Regions from separate parts of the Homo sapiens genome. Here all the other regions are linked to region 5. Evidence: promoter capture Hi-C in 16 types of primary human blood cells and fetal thymus (Javierre and others, 2016). All regions are on one chromosome and are shown on one strand. Each heading gives the region's core, a stretch centred on a gene start or on the middle of the fragment in contact. The rest is flanking DNA. Distances are from core to core; before and after follow the strand shown. Region 1 overlaps SSBP1 (single stranded DNA binding protein 1). Region 2 overlaps AGK (acylglycerol kinase). Region 3 overlaps AGK-DT (AGK divergent transcript). Region 4 overlaps WEE2-AS1 (WEE2 antisense RNA 1). Region 5 holds the start of BRAF (B-Raf proto-oncogene, serine/threonine kinase).

The links. The method cuts DNA at HindIII sites, captures the fragments that hold promoters and counts their contacts. A CHiCAGO score of 5 or more calls a contact.
Region 1: a fragment that was not itself captured here is called in contact with the fragment with the promoter of BRAF in region 5 in 3 of 17 cell types (megakaryocytes, total B cells and naive CD4 T cells); the score reaches 7.7 in megakaryocytes.
Region 2: a contact is called between a fragment that was not itself captured here and the fragment with the promoter of BRAF in region 5, in 2 of 17 cell types (megakaryocytes and endothelial precursors). The highest score is 8.6, in megakaryocytes.
Region 3: a fragment that was not itself captured here is called in contact with the fragment with the promoter of BRAF in region 5 in 1 of 17 cell types (endothelial precursors); the score reaches 7.0 in endothelial precursors.
Region 4: a fragment that was not itself captured here is called in contact with the fragment with the promoter of BRAF in region 5 in 1 of 17 cell types (total CD8 T cells); the score reaches 5.4 in total CD8 T cells.

The regions. Positions count from the first base shown.
Region 1 is chr7:141,745,016-141,747,715 of GRCh38, reverse strand. It overlaps SSBP1 (single stranded DNA binding protein 1), which reads right to left. Exons shown (of 7, transcript NM_003143.3): 6 at 2,132-2,220. Among named protein-coding and RNA genes, the nearest start is that of SSBP1, 8.0 kb to the right of the region's middle. RefSeq lists a silencer at 164-306. The HindIII fragment of the contact is 1,653 bases long and covers 424-2,076 here.
Region 2 is chr7:141,643,959-141,646,658 of GRCh38, reverse strand. The region is part of intron 13 of AGK (acylglycerol kinase); the gene reads right to left. Among named protein-coding and RNA genes, the nearest start is that of DENND11, 57 kb to the left of the region's middle. The HindIII fragment of the contact is 2,698 bases long and covers 99-2,700 here.
Region 3 is chr7:141,537,585-141,540,284 of GRCh38, reverse strand. The region is part of intron 1 of AGK-DT (AGK divergent transcript); the gene reads left to right. Among named protein-coding and RNA genes, the nearest start is that of AGK-DT, 12 kb to the left of the region's middle. The HindIII fragment of the contact is 2,255 bases long and covers 237-2,491 here.
Region 4 is chr7:141,705,762-141,708,461 of GRCh38, reverse strand. The region is part of intron 3 of WEE2-AS1 (WEE2 antisense RNA 1); the gene reads left to right. It overlaps WEE2 (WEE2 oocyte meiosis inhibiting kinase), which reads right to left and starts at 109. Exons shown (of 12, transcript NM_001105558.1): 1 at 1-109. The HindIII fragment of the contact is 2,116 bases long and covers 365-2,480 here.
Region 5 is chr7:140,923,596-140,926,295 of GRCh38, reverse strand. It overlaps BRAF (B-Raf proto-oncogene, serine/threonine kinase), which reads left to right and starts at 1,367. Exons shown (of 18, transcript NM_004333.6): 1 at 1,367-1,730. The coding sequence starts at 1,593. It overlaps LOC105375536 (a long non-coding RNA gene), which reads right to left and starts at 1,204. Exons shown (of 5, transcript XR_002956518.2): 1 at 1-1,204. RefSeq lists a silencer at 1,475-1,544. The HindIII fragment of the contact is 2,638 bases long and covers 828-2,700 here.

The sequences.
Region 1 (2,700 bases), core at 1-2,500, 820 kb before region 5:
AAAAATCAATTTTTAAAAAATATTATCTAGCCGGGCACGGTGGCTCACGCCTGTAATCCCAGCACTTTGGGAGGCTGAAGTGGGCAGATCACGAGGTCAGGAGTTCGAGACCAGCCTGGCCAATATGGTGAAACCCCATCTCTACTACAAATACAAAAATTAGCTGGGCGTGGTGGCGCGTGCCTGTAGTCCCAGCTACTCAGGAGGCTGAGGCAGGAGAATCGCTTGAACCCGGGAGGCGAAGGTTGCAGTGAGCCAGGATCGTGTCACTGTACTCTAGCCGGGGCAACAGAGTGAGACGCTGTCTCAAAAAAAAAAAAAAAAAAAAAAAATCTAATTTGGGCATATCTCAGAAGTTCATAAACACAGAAACATTAATATAGTAAAATTTAGTTTATTGCCATGTATTTATTTTAAAAAGCTTTCTTAGTATTTATGTCCATAAAAGCAAACAAAAGCACAAAATTCACAATGTCTAATTTTAGCAATTTACTCAAGAAGTGAAAAAAGCACCATCTATCTCATTTAAAGACATATTTCCAATATAATTTAAATACATTAAAATTGTTTTGATCAATTAGGTACTAAAAACAACTTTAATGATAAGTCAATTGAGAAGAATTTGTCATAGAATTCTTTTAAATATTTTAAAGTTTCTTTTATGCATGCATTTTTGTTACAAACAGGGTAATAAAAAGTTCTTAACTATACCATATACTATTAAGATACACTTCTGAGGGGAAAATAAAAACAGTAAAACAAGTTCAAAGAAAAAAGAATAATGGAAAATTTCCAAATGCTGAACTGGTATTTTTTTACAGGATAGTAGGTATCACATTGCTATGCTATTTAGATTCCATTGATACATTTAAAAATAACACAATTTTGTATTGAAAAAAATTTCTTAATGTCGCTTGCAGACATCCAGAGGGGTATATTATTTTCAAAATTCTTATAGCATTTTCAAAAGTTTAAAAACTCTTTCCTAAGGGATATCTTCTTAATCTTCTTTAACCTTTACGTGTACATCTTTTCTATGTTGTACTGTATTTTGTTTAAAGAGAATATTAGGCCGGGCATAATGGCTCATGCCTGTAATTCCAGTATTTGGGGAGGCTAAGGTGGGAGGATCATTTGAGCCCAGCAGTTTGAGACCAGCCTGGGCAACATGGTGAAACCTCATCTCTACAAAAAAATTGACAAATTAGCCAGGCATGATGGTGTACACCTGTTGTCCCAGCTACTTGGGAGAAGGCTGAGGTGGGAAGATCACCTGAGCCTGGGGAGGTAGAGGCTGCAGTAAGCTGTGATCACACCATTGCACTCCAGCCTGGTTGACAGAGGGAGACCCTGTCTCAAAACAAAAACAAAAAAAGAGAAAATTAAAAACTTCTTGGCTGGGCACAGTGGCTCATGCCTGTAATCTCACAACTTTGGGAGGCCGAGGTGGATGGATCACCTGAGGTCAGGAGTTCAAGACCAGCCTGACCAACATGGTGAAACCCCGCCTCTACGAAAATTACAAAAATTAGCCAGGTGGTGTGGCACGCACCTATAATCCTAGCTACTCAGGAGGCTGAGGCAGGAGAATCACTTGAATCCAGGAGACAGAGGTTGCAATGAGCCGAGATTGTGCCATTGCACTCCAGCCTGGGTGACAGAGTGAGATTCTGGCTCAAAAAAAATAAAATTAAAAAAATCTTAATTTCAAATAGAAATTTCACATACTAAGTACCAAAGAGGTTCCGAATAAATCTGCACACTCACATTAGTGTAATTCTTATCTTGGCATACGCTTCTTCCTGGTTAGGGCTAGATCCTTCCAAAAGACAATACATTCAGAGTTTTTGTAATTCTCAACAATAAGTACTGGGATGGATAATTCAGTTTTAGGCTTTATTCAAAAGTTACTTGTGACTAAAACTGTAAGTATAAAAATAATTTTTTAAAGGAAGGGATAAATGTACAAACTCTTAGCAAGTAGAGAAATAAGAGTTATGGACATCTTCTAGTGAGTTGCCTTAACTCATAAGTACTGGTACTCTTAACCCTAGTTAGTTACAGTGTAGCCAAGCTTTTAAAAAAGAAAAGGAGAAAAAGAAAAAAACAGCTATTTTCACAAGCTTCTTACCAGCTATGATTGTTGTTGCTTGTCGCCTCACATTATTTTTATCCATGTATTCACCATAGTCTATTTTCCCTTCCAAATAAATTCGAGACCTGATATAAATAAAATGTACAGTTTTTAGTTGAGATCTTAATATGCTTTATAAGAGTCAGGTCAGGGTGGTACTGAGTATATGACAAGGATGAAATATATAATCATATATAAGCTAATTTTTGCTACCACTTCTCAAGGTTCAGGATTAGGAGTACTGAAACAGAGTGTCCAAACAGACTTGGTAACATCTAGGTAAAACAGACAATGTTTTCATCTGTCAGCTATTTCTCTTACGGAAGTTAAAAAATAAAACAAAACAGTTCAAAGGGAAATTTAGTGGCAACATTTAAATCTCTAGGAATAATTTCCAATGTATCATTTTCCTTGACCTTTGATTTTGGAGTCCCTAACAGACTTGATTTTCACTTATTTATCAATTATTTTCTATGACCTTAGAAACTTAGATGATTAAAATTCAAAATATGGATTTGTAGTTAGTTTAGTATAATATTACCCTGAGTTAATTACTAAGACTATTT
Region 2 (2,700 bases), core at 198-2,697, 720 kb before region 5:
AAATGTAAAAAATATTGTTAGCTTCAAGGCTGTACAAATACAGGCAGCAGGATAGTCGGGCCTGTGGGCTGTCCTTTGCTGACCCCTGTTCTAAAGCTTTGTTCTGGAGGCACAATTAAGTTACCTAGAAAGAAACTGTGGTTCTTTGGAGGTGAGCCTTTAGCTTTGTTAACAGGGAAGAGGGCAGCCTTTAGTCTAGAATTAATTTTGACTCACTACTGAGGCAATACCTTTCTGAGGACACTACCCAATGCCCCATGTCTGAAGAGGATTTTCTACTCTAATTGGTTTGAACACGAACTATTCCTGGCTTTGTGAGAGGACTGACTCTCCTGAGACTGTCCCGCCTGCTCACTGGTAGGTAACTCAACCTCTATCTCGGGTGGTGGTTTCTCACATGCATGCACCTGTCAGTACTCAGCTGAAGATTCCAGAGGACACCTCCGTAAACCTCTAGCTTGGTTCTGGGTGCGGCTCTCCTCTCCATGGGGCTCTCTTGTATCCTGCCTTGCAATTCTAGCTGCCTTGATTTCTCAAATTCTCAAAGACCCCTCAACTGAGGTAGGGCATGGGCTCTGTGTGGGCTCCCTCTCCGCAGGCTGTGGCCTCTCTCCAGCAGTCACCTCGGGCAAGCATCAGGCTCACTGTGTTCAACTTCTTGCTCTCTGGACTCACTGTCCTATGCTGCTTGTCTCATACCAATGTCTCATATAGTTGTTTCAAAGATTTTGTCCAATTTTTAAGGTGTTTAAGGTATAAAGCTGGTGCTTTTTGCTACATCTTGGCCAAAAGTCTCACATTAACATTCAAAAATCAATTCATTTTATTGCTTTGACAGATTAAATGAGGAAACTTTATTATCTCAATAGATGCTGGAAGAGTACTTGATAAAATTAAATATCTAAGATATTTAACATGAAAGATAAAAATGCTTAGCAAACTGGGAATAGAAAGGAACTGCCTTAATCTGATAAAGGGTGTCTATAAAAAAAGAAAGCACATTAAATACAAGCATGAAGCAATGAAGACTTTCTCTCTAAATCAGAAATAAGAAAGACGATGGGGACTCCTGTTACTGCTACTTCTATTTAACCATGTACTGAGGTCCTATCCAGTGCTCTAAGTAAAATGAAGGATTGTAAGGATAAGTATTTGAAGAGAGAAAACAAACCTTGCACTATTTGCATTGGCCATGACTAAATCTGTAGAAAATTTGAAAGAATTCATTGAAAGAAAGTTAGAATAATTAATAATAATTTAATTAGGTTGCTGATTCAGCATTGATATAAAAATCAATTATATGTCCATCTACTAAATCAGGTAGAAAATGAAATTTTAATAGATATTATTTAGAATAGCATAAAAATTAAGATAACTGGGAATATATCCAGCAAAAGACAGGATATTCCAGAGAAAACTATAAAACTTCATTGAAAGACATTGAAGACCTAAATAAATGAAGAGATATACCCCGTTCATATGCTAGAGGAGTCAATATTGTAGAAATGTCATTTCTCTCCAAATTGATCTATGGGTACAATGCAGTGAGATCAATATTATAACATTTTTATGTGGAATTTAATAAAATAAACATTCTAAAATATTTATAGAACTCAAATGAGCTAAGAATAGCCAAGAGACTGTGTAAAAAGAGAAAAACATAGAACTTATTATAAAACTATAATAAGAGAAGCAGAGTATTAGTATAAATATGAGAAAATGGAACAACAATAGAAGAAAGAGACTAGAAACATTTACATGTATATAGACATGATGTATGGCAGAGGTTTATTGAAGATCAATGGGGGAAAATGGAGATTTCAATAAATGGCGCTTGGACAACTGGCTTTCTATTTGGAAAGAACATAAAATTGGAGCTTTACCTCCATCATTCACAAAACTCACTTATAAGTGGGGGTATTTCCTTTTTAAAGAAAAATGGAACTATGTTGCAAATCTTTTCACCTATTTTTCCCATGTCAATAGATAGAAAATAATACATATATAAAATAGATATGACTTTTAATAAATGTACCAAAATTTATTCAGTCTGATTAGTTCATTGCAAATATTTTACTATTATACAGTGAGCATAGTTGTATAAGAGATCCTAATTTTCACACATTCTATACTCCTACAGCTTCTTTCATACACTGAATGTGCTGCTTTTAATAAGTGAACATTTTGAGCTATTACACGGCAGCTACACTGCCTTTATTGTATTGCATTTGCTTTTATTTTTATAAAGAACTGTGCAAAAACGAAACAAATGAATTTGCTGCTACTAGTGATAAGCGGCACAGTATCGTATACTTTTAAATAGGCACAAAGATAAAAAGCACTTGGCATTGTGAGTGTGGCTAATCTTGAGCGCACTCACATACTCACTGAACTCAATCCATTCAGTGGTACTCAGTCATCAGAGAAAAGAACAATGGTAAAGAACATGAATAAAATACTCGGAATACATATTATTAAAGACTTGGTATAAAGGAGATGTATAATTAGACATTTTATCTTTCTCTTTTAAATTCCTCTGGAACAGAATCTATTTTTTTTTTTTTAGCATTCACATATCCACTTTCACCAGTGTTTTTCAGATTTCCATTATGTAAAAAAGGACTGCCTACATTATATATTCATCAGGTTATTCCAGTAGGATAAATTCCTAGAAATACAGTTAATAGGGCAGAAGGTATG
Region 3 (2,700 bases), core at 115-2,614, 610 kb before region 5:
ACTGATCTGCCCGCCTCAGCCTCCCAAAGTCCTGGGATTACAGGAGTGAGTCATCTCACCTGGTCTATTCCTTTACTGTTGAATGACTACCCATTAAGATTTTAACTTAAAAAATTTAAATAATTGACGTCATTTATTATAAATGTAGGGTTAGTTTTTAAAACTAGAATTAATGAATCAGAGGAAATATATTTGAGGTTCCAGATGCATTTTTCCAAATTTTTTAATTAAAAGCTTATAACCAATTTATGTTCCCACTATCTTCACTGGATAGTGCCTCTCATAGCACCCTTGCCATCAATAAGTATTGTTTTGCCCAATGTCTACTTATTTAATTGCTGGGAAAATAGTATTTCATTTTTTCAGTTTAAATTTCTTTGGTTATGAGTAAAACTATTTTTTCATCTATCCAGCCATTTTCCTCTTCCATAGAAATTTGCCTGTCTTTTACTTGTATTTTTATTCTATTTTCCCAACTTGCTTTTTATGTTTATTTTTATTTTTAAAATTCTATAAACTTACCTAAATGACTAAAGGATCAATCATTTTAGAAGGATGATCTACTAACTGGATTCTGTTGATGTTTTAATGCTTTTCTTGTCAGTTTGATACATGCTCTTTATGTAGTAAGGATGGTAATCCTTTGACTTATTTGTTGCAAATATTTAGCACTTGGTTTACAATATGTTTCGAAATAAAAGTAAAGAAAAAAACCTCTTGAATTTTATGTAGTTAAATCTCAGGCATATTCTTGGAGAGTCCTCTATCTAGTGATCAAAATTTATTTATATTTTCTTGGAGTTTTCTATGGTTTCATTTTTTATATTAATCTCTTAAAACTCACATATAATTATTGTTCTGTATCAAAATGTACCCAAATCTGTCCAACCTTAAGGTCTTCACTGAAGCCATTCCATTCACTTATCACCTAACTCCTTCTCACCTTCCTCCTCTCAGCTGAAAGGTGGCTTCACTCAAGAGACCTTCCCTGAGCCATCTGTTTAAATTAGGTTCCTTCTGTTGCCCTCTTTAATAGATTCCTTAACCTGTATGGCATTCATAATAATCTGTAATTATGTATTTAGTTCTTTAATTGTTTAATGCCCCCCATCTACTGTATTCTAAATTATATGAGAGCAGAAACAGTATTATTCTTTCTTACAGAATATCCATATCTTTATTTATAAAGTGCCTGGCATAAAATAAATAAAGGTTGAATGATTGAATGAGCCATGAACTTCCTTTGCTTTCTGCCCTCCCACATACAAAATTACATTTGTCTTTGTTCAAACTTAATAGTACAACCACTTTCCTCTGCTGCAGACTCAGGGAGCTTATGTTCACTCCTCCCATCCACAGCTCATCCATCCACCCGTGCTTGGGATGGCACCCCCATCTTCCCGTCCCCGAGAAATCTGCCTCATCAGTCCTTTCCTCACTCTGGTATTTTCTCCCTCCATCTCCACTGTCTTTTCCTCTTAGCATATAAACCTACTCAAAATCTGCCCACTCTAACATAGAAATATACCAAAATTACCCCCTTTCTTCTCCTTGCATTCCCACTACAATTTTTAAAATAAATCTTATTGGCATAACATTTACATACAACGAAATGCACCCATTTTTAGTGTGCAGATTGATGACTTTTGATAAATGCGTATGTTCCTATACTGGCCACAATGAAGATACAGACATTTCCATTGCCACCCAAGTGTTCTCTTATTCTTTTCCAGTCAGTTCCTACATTCCCTCAGTCCACCCCAACACCAGCCAATCACTAATCTTCTTTCTACCACTGTATGTTAATTTGTATCTTTTAGAGTTTTACATAAATGGAATTGTACAATATAGAACCTTTTGTTTCTGGCTTTTCTCTCAACACGGTTTTTTTTTTTTTTAAGATTTATCCATTGTGTGCTTCAGTAGTTTGCTCTTATTGATGACTAGTAGCCCATTGCATGGGTTTACTGCAATTTTTTTCATTCATTCACCTGTTGACAGACATTTAGGTTGTTTCAGGCTTTTTGCCATTATAAACAAAGGTGCATTCAACATTTGTATACAAGTCTTTTTGTGATATATGTTTATGTTTTTATTTCTTTTGGGTAAATACATAGGAAAGTGATGGCTGGGTTTTATGTAAGTGTGTTTAATTTCTTAAGACACTGTCAAACTAGTTTCCAAACTGGTTGCACTCCTTTACATTCCTGGAAGCAGGATATGAGACTTCCAATGGCTCCACATCCTCACCAGCACTTGGTATGTTAGTTTTAAAACTGAAGACATCCTAATATATCTAATCATCTGTGGAAGATATTGACAAAGCATCTGTTGAAATGTTTTGCCCATTTAAAAAATTCTTCTTATTGAATTGTTAAAGTTCTTTATATATTTTAGATACAAATCCCTTTCAGATATATTTTGCAAATATTTTCTTCCAGTCTATGTTGTGCTTTATTTTTATAACAGTGCTTTTTGAAAAGCAAAAGCTTTACATTTGGTGAAGTACAATTTATTGATTTTTTTTCTTTTATAGTTCATATTTGTAGGGCCCATTTAAGAGTTTTTTGCTTAATGCAATATCATTCCGATTTCTCCGATTTTTTTTTTCTTGCAGAAGTTTTATAATTTTTATTTTTATTTTTTGGTTAGGTCTATTACCTATTTTAAGTTAATATTTGTGAACTGTGTGAGGTAGGG
Region 4 (2,700 bases), core at 173-2,672, 780 kb before region 5:
TCCCATGTGTTACCAAATACTAGTGAGAAAATTGAATTCCTTTAATTTAGCATGGCTTTAAAAATACCCATTAGCCAATTTGGGAATAAGCTAATATTGAAAAGAAATTATTTTCACTCCTTACACCTGCCATTTATAAATATCACCCTCTCCTCCCTTCTCCTCCCCACCCACCCAATAGCTAACAGCAGGTAATTACAATTTAGCATCACCTGGCTATCATAATGATCCTTAAACAGCCTCTAACATATCTTGACTGGAGTTTGTATCCCTGACAGAGACACAGCTTAGCTCTGTGCCAAACACACCTGCCCTAATTCAGGCATCTCCCTCCTGCAGCTGTTAGCTGTTAGCAGTTAAAGCTTCTAGGGAATTGAACAAAAATTTAAACTGACAAAAGAAAGGCTAGAAAGATCAACAAACCATAGAAACAGATATTGATCACTGGAAAACAGCAATGGCTTCTGCCAAAAATGCCTTATATTGTAAAATGCTTTTTAATATCTTTAGTACACATTATTTAATTTCTTTCTCAGAGAAGCCCCTATGAGAAGGATGGAAAACTCTTTGAAGAAAAAAACAACTATTATACAATCAAGCTGTCCCTCTTCTCTTCCAGTTATATAGCCAAAGGAAATAAAATCACTATCTCAAAAAAATACCAACACACCCATATTCATTGCAGCATTATCCTCAACAGCCAAGATATGGAAACCACCTAAATAGCCATGGACAGATGAATAAAGAAAATGTGGTGAATACACACACACACACACACACACACACACACACACACACAATAGAATATTACTCAGTCATAAAAAAGGAAAGGCTGCCATTTGTGATAACATGGATGAACCAGGGGGATATTAAGTGAAATAAGCCAGGCACAGAAAGACAGATACTACATGATCTTACTTATATGTGGAATCAAAAACAGTTGATCTCCTAGAGGGAGGGAGTAGAATGGTGGTTACCAGGATCTGGAAAGGCAGGGGAAATGGGGAGATGCTGATCAAAGGGTACACACTTTCAGGTATAAGATGAACAATTCTGGGGACCTGATGTACAGCATGGGTGCATATGGGTGTGGTAAATTTTTGGTAATCATTACACAATGTATAGGTATATCAAAGGAAAAAGGCCTCACTGATATCACATTATAGAAGAAAACTATGTGAGAGGCAGTCCATGAAAAAGGAAAATGATACACTCATGCCCCTCAAGGAGGCTTCAGAGGGACTGCAAATAGGGAATTATTTACATGATAAACATGGGCCCAAAGAGAGACAGGAACCAAGGCCAGCTTGATGAGTTTGAAACAAATGTTATTTCCCTTCTCTTTATAGTCTTTGCTACCTGTCACCCCTCTTCCATTTCCCTCTTTTCACAGATCTCTCCACCACTTTCTCCTAATTCCTTCCCCATTCCCAGCCAGAACTCCTGAGGAGGGTAATCCAAATGAAAACTAACTGGGGAGACTTCAAAGTGTTTTTTCAGCTCAAAGCCTTCTCATGCTCCAGCCCTTTGTAGGTGGGCACACCAATTCATCCTTCCTTGGCCCTTCCCTACAGCCTCCCACCCACACAAACTATCCCAGATAATTCAACAGGGGGTAAAATATTGCTCACAAAATGCAGTAACTCACTGCCCACCTTTGTCAGAGATTCAGTATCCTACAGGGGCCAGTAAAAACAGAATCATCAAAGAAAAAGGAGAACTCATAGGTTACCAGTAATGCAATTATTATCAACTGGGATTCTCAGCCTAGGAGTGTCTTGTTTACAAATCAGCAAGCCAGATGATAGATTTCTTTTCTATAGCCTTGGTGTTGATGAATTTCCCCTCACATGCCATGGCTTGTCATTCCTGCCTCTCCAGGCAGCTAGAGGCTGGCTTTGCTCTCAGTAAAACAGGACTGACTCAAAACACTGGCTATATTATTGTCCTGTAGACAGGGCACAGGGGCTGGTTTATTAGGTATTACCCAAGTAGACCAGGTTTTCTTTTTTTTTTTCTATCACCTGCTGCTTTTTCTCTCTCCCTTGCTATAATTCTTGATTACCCTTATTTATGACTACATTGTTTGCCTAGGGAGGCAGCTATGCCATTGCAATGGTTGAGGTCTTATGTTATCGGCAGTAATACTGTTAGAAACTTGCACCATTCACCTTTTCATGTATTGTTACTCAGAAGATAATGATTGTGGCTAAGTCTTCAGAATAAGAAAGGTGTAACAATGAGTACAAAAAAGATATCCCAAATTTGGACAACTAAATAATAAGAATTGCATAGTTGCTGATCTGGATGACCCAAGGGAATCCCTAGAGGTGCTACCTATGGCCTCTGGCCCATGGCCTCACTATTTTTTTGGTCACATTGTAGCCTTTTCTTCATTTTTAGCCTCTTTCCATTATGAAAAATTTCATCTCTGCTTCAGTATATGTTAATCCCACAGGCATCCATCCCAGCATAAAGCTTCAGGTGATAGTTGAGATGATGTGTCAAAAGGGGGACCCATGTAATCTGTGGCAATAAGAGGAAAAGGGGAGGGTTTCCCCCTTAATGCCTAACATATAGTAGGTGTTCAATAAATTGTTTTTGGATGAATTTGGGGAAATAAATTAATATATTTCAATCATGTTTAAAATACTCCATATTTGACTTTTTAAAAAAAATTTGAATTTTTTTCTTAATGTG
Region 5 (2,700 bases), core at 118-2,617:
ACGTTGGCCAGGCTGGTCTCAAACTCCTGGCCTCAGGTGATCCATCCGCCTCAGACTCCCAAAGTGTTGGGATTACAGGCGTGAGCCACTGCGCCCGGCCTACAATGTTCATCTTATAGGTTATATTTTTTCAATGCAGAAGAATGTTAGTATTCTCATTCATCAAGCAGCCTCACACAGCATCCTTTACCTGAGAGTAAGCATCAGCTCCCAGGCTTACGGTGACCCTAATCAATATGAAGACACCCTGTTTCAGAAGTCAGTAGGACACCTTTCTATTTCTTGAATCATCCAAAATACAGTAAGGAGGTCGCTGGTGACTTCCCCCATGATGGGAAGTACTAAAAGGCAGAATCCACTTAGTTTTTCATGACTTCATGTTTAGGTTACTTTGGTGATTCACTCCAGGCCATTGGGAGCCCACAGTAATTGTTTCTCATTCCCGTTTCTCTCTTCCTTAAACTTTTCTTTTCCAATTATTTATTCTTTATTAGATCCATGTATTTTTAATAATGAATTGAATTTCATTCTGTAATTGGGCTTCTCAAAGATAATTGACCTCTTCTCTCCCAATTGTTTTCATGCGTATTTTGCAGAGAATGCTTGGAATATTCTGTTCATGAAAGGCACAAAGTACATAAAATATTTTGAGTGATTTTCTTCAAAATAAAAATGATTAGTTTTGATGCTTCAGATGTCTAGAATGCTATGTGCCTTGTACAGGCCCTACGGCATGGAAAGTGCTCAACTGATATTTGTTAAATGAATGAATCTGGAAAACGAAAAATACACGAAATATTTTATTCCTCAACAATGAAGAAAAAGCTTTCAGACTTCCATTTAGACTCGTTTTAACTGGCTGAATTCTTCAATGAAAAGAAAACACGCGTCGCACTGCTAATTTAGCTGTTCCTAAATATATTTCCATCAAATTCTGCTTGGCTGTTTCAACCTTGGGGTTGAAGTTCTTATTTTGATGACACAGAGACGTTCATTGCAGTGGAAATAGCAAGTAGTATTGGCTTCCCCGCCTTCCTCCCTCTAGGATTTCAACTTCTCCTCCTCGAACACCAGCCCTGCTCTTCTAGTAAATCCCACATTACAGAACAGGCTGAGGACGGAGGAGACAAGAGGAAAGTAGGAAACCGGAGCCATGGAAACGGCGGAGCGGAGGCAAAGTGTGAGAGCGCGGGTGGTTAGAAGGGAAAAAACCCTCCCCGGACGACGGCGCGAAGGCGCGCCTCAGATTACGTCACGCACCGGGGTGACGTCACGACCGTGACACGCGGGTGACGCCGTTGCCGCGGCGACTTCTCGTCGTCTCCGCCCCCTTCCCCCGCTCCCCCCCGCACCCCCGCCTAGCGTCCTTCCCCCAATCCCCTCAGGCTCGGCTGCGCCCGGGGCCGCGGGCCGGTACCTGAGGTGGCCCAGGCGCCCTCCGCCCGCGGCGCCGCCCGGGCCGCTCCTCCCCGCGCCCCCCGCGCCCCCCGCTCCTCCGCCTCCGCCTCCGCCTCCGCCTCCCCCAGCTCTCCGCCTCCCTTCCCCCTCCCCGCCCGACAGCGGCCGCTCGGGCCCCGGCTCTCGGTTATAAGATGGCGGCGCTGAGCGGTGGCGGTGGTGGCGGCGCGGAGCCGGGCCAGGCTCTGTTCAACGGGGACATGGAGCCCGAGGCCGGCGCCGGCGCCGGCGCCGCGGCCTCTTCGGCTGCGGACCCTGCCATTCCGGAGGAGGTGAGTGCTGGCGCCACCCTGCCGCCCTCCCGACTCCGGGCTCGGCGGCTGGCTGGTGTTTATTTTGGAAAGAGGCGGCGGTGGGGGCTTGATGCCCTCAGCCACCTTCTCGGGCCAGCTCCGCGGGCTGGGAGGTGGGCATCGCCCCCGTGTCCCTCTCCGTCATGCAGCGCCTTCCTACGTAAACACACACAATGGCCCGGGGGGTTTCCCTGGCCCCCACCCCAGATGTGGGGATTGGGGCAGCGGTGGTTGAGCGGGAGGCTATCAATAGGGGGCGAAACTCAGGGTTGGTCCGAGAAGGTCACGATTGGCTGAAGTATCCAGCTCTGCATCTCTGTGGGGTGGGGGCGGCGGCGGCCTCGACGTGGAGGATATAGGTTAGTTGCTGGGGCTGAGACAACAGCCCGAGTTACTGTCGCGTGTAATTCTTACATGGTCGTGGGGATGATGGGGCTCATCATTTCCTCTCTCCTCTCCCGGACTGCCCCCCTTCTCAGTCCGCTGCCCTTTTTCACTTTTCTATTTGGGGATTTCTCTTCACCTGTTTTACCCAGCAAATTATTTTGATTTAGTCTTTACTTTTTCAATCCTAAATCGCAGTTTCCGATGCCTTTTCTGGTCTCTGGTCCTCTGTTCCTAATGTTTGTCAGCGCTCTGTCGCTGATTGGTAACCCCCATTCTATTCCCATCTACCGCCCGCTCATTTTCCAGTTGTCGGACCTGCCTGCCTTCTAACCCCAGCTCCCACTTAAGAGCATTTTTGCACTTCTCTTACCCTGGTCCTCTTGAGGCTCTGTACTTGATCTCACCACTCCCTAACATTGTTGTCTGTTGTTATCTTCACAAATCCTCCTGGACACTTTGGAGCTACTTGTTTTCTGAGCCCAGAAGCTGTCAAGATTCCATCAGGTTTCACTTGGCTCTTTTCGCGCTTGCACTACTGGCACTTTTTGGCTAGTCGTCCATT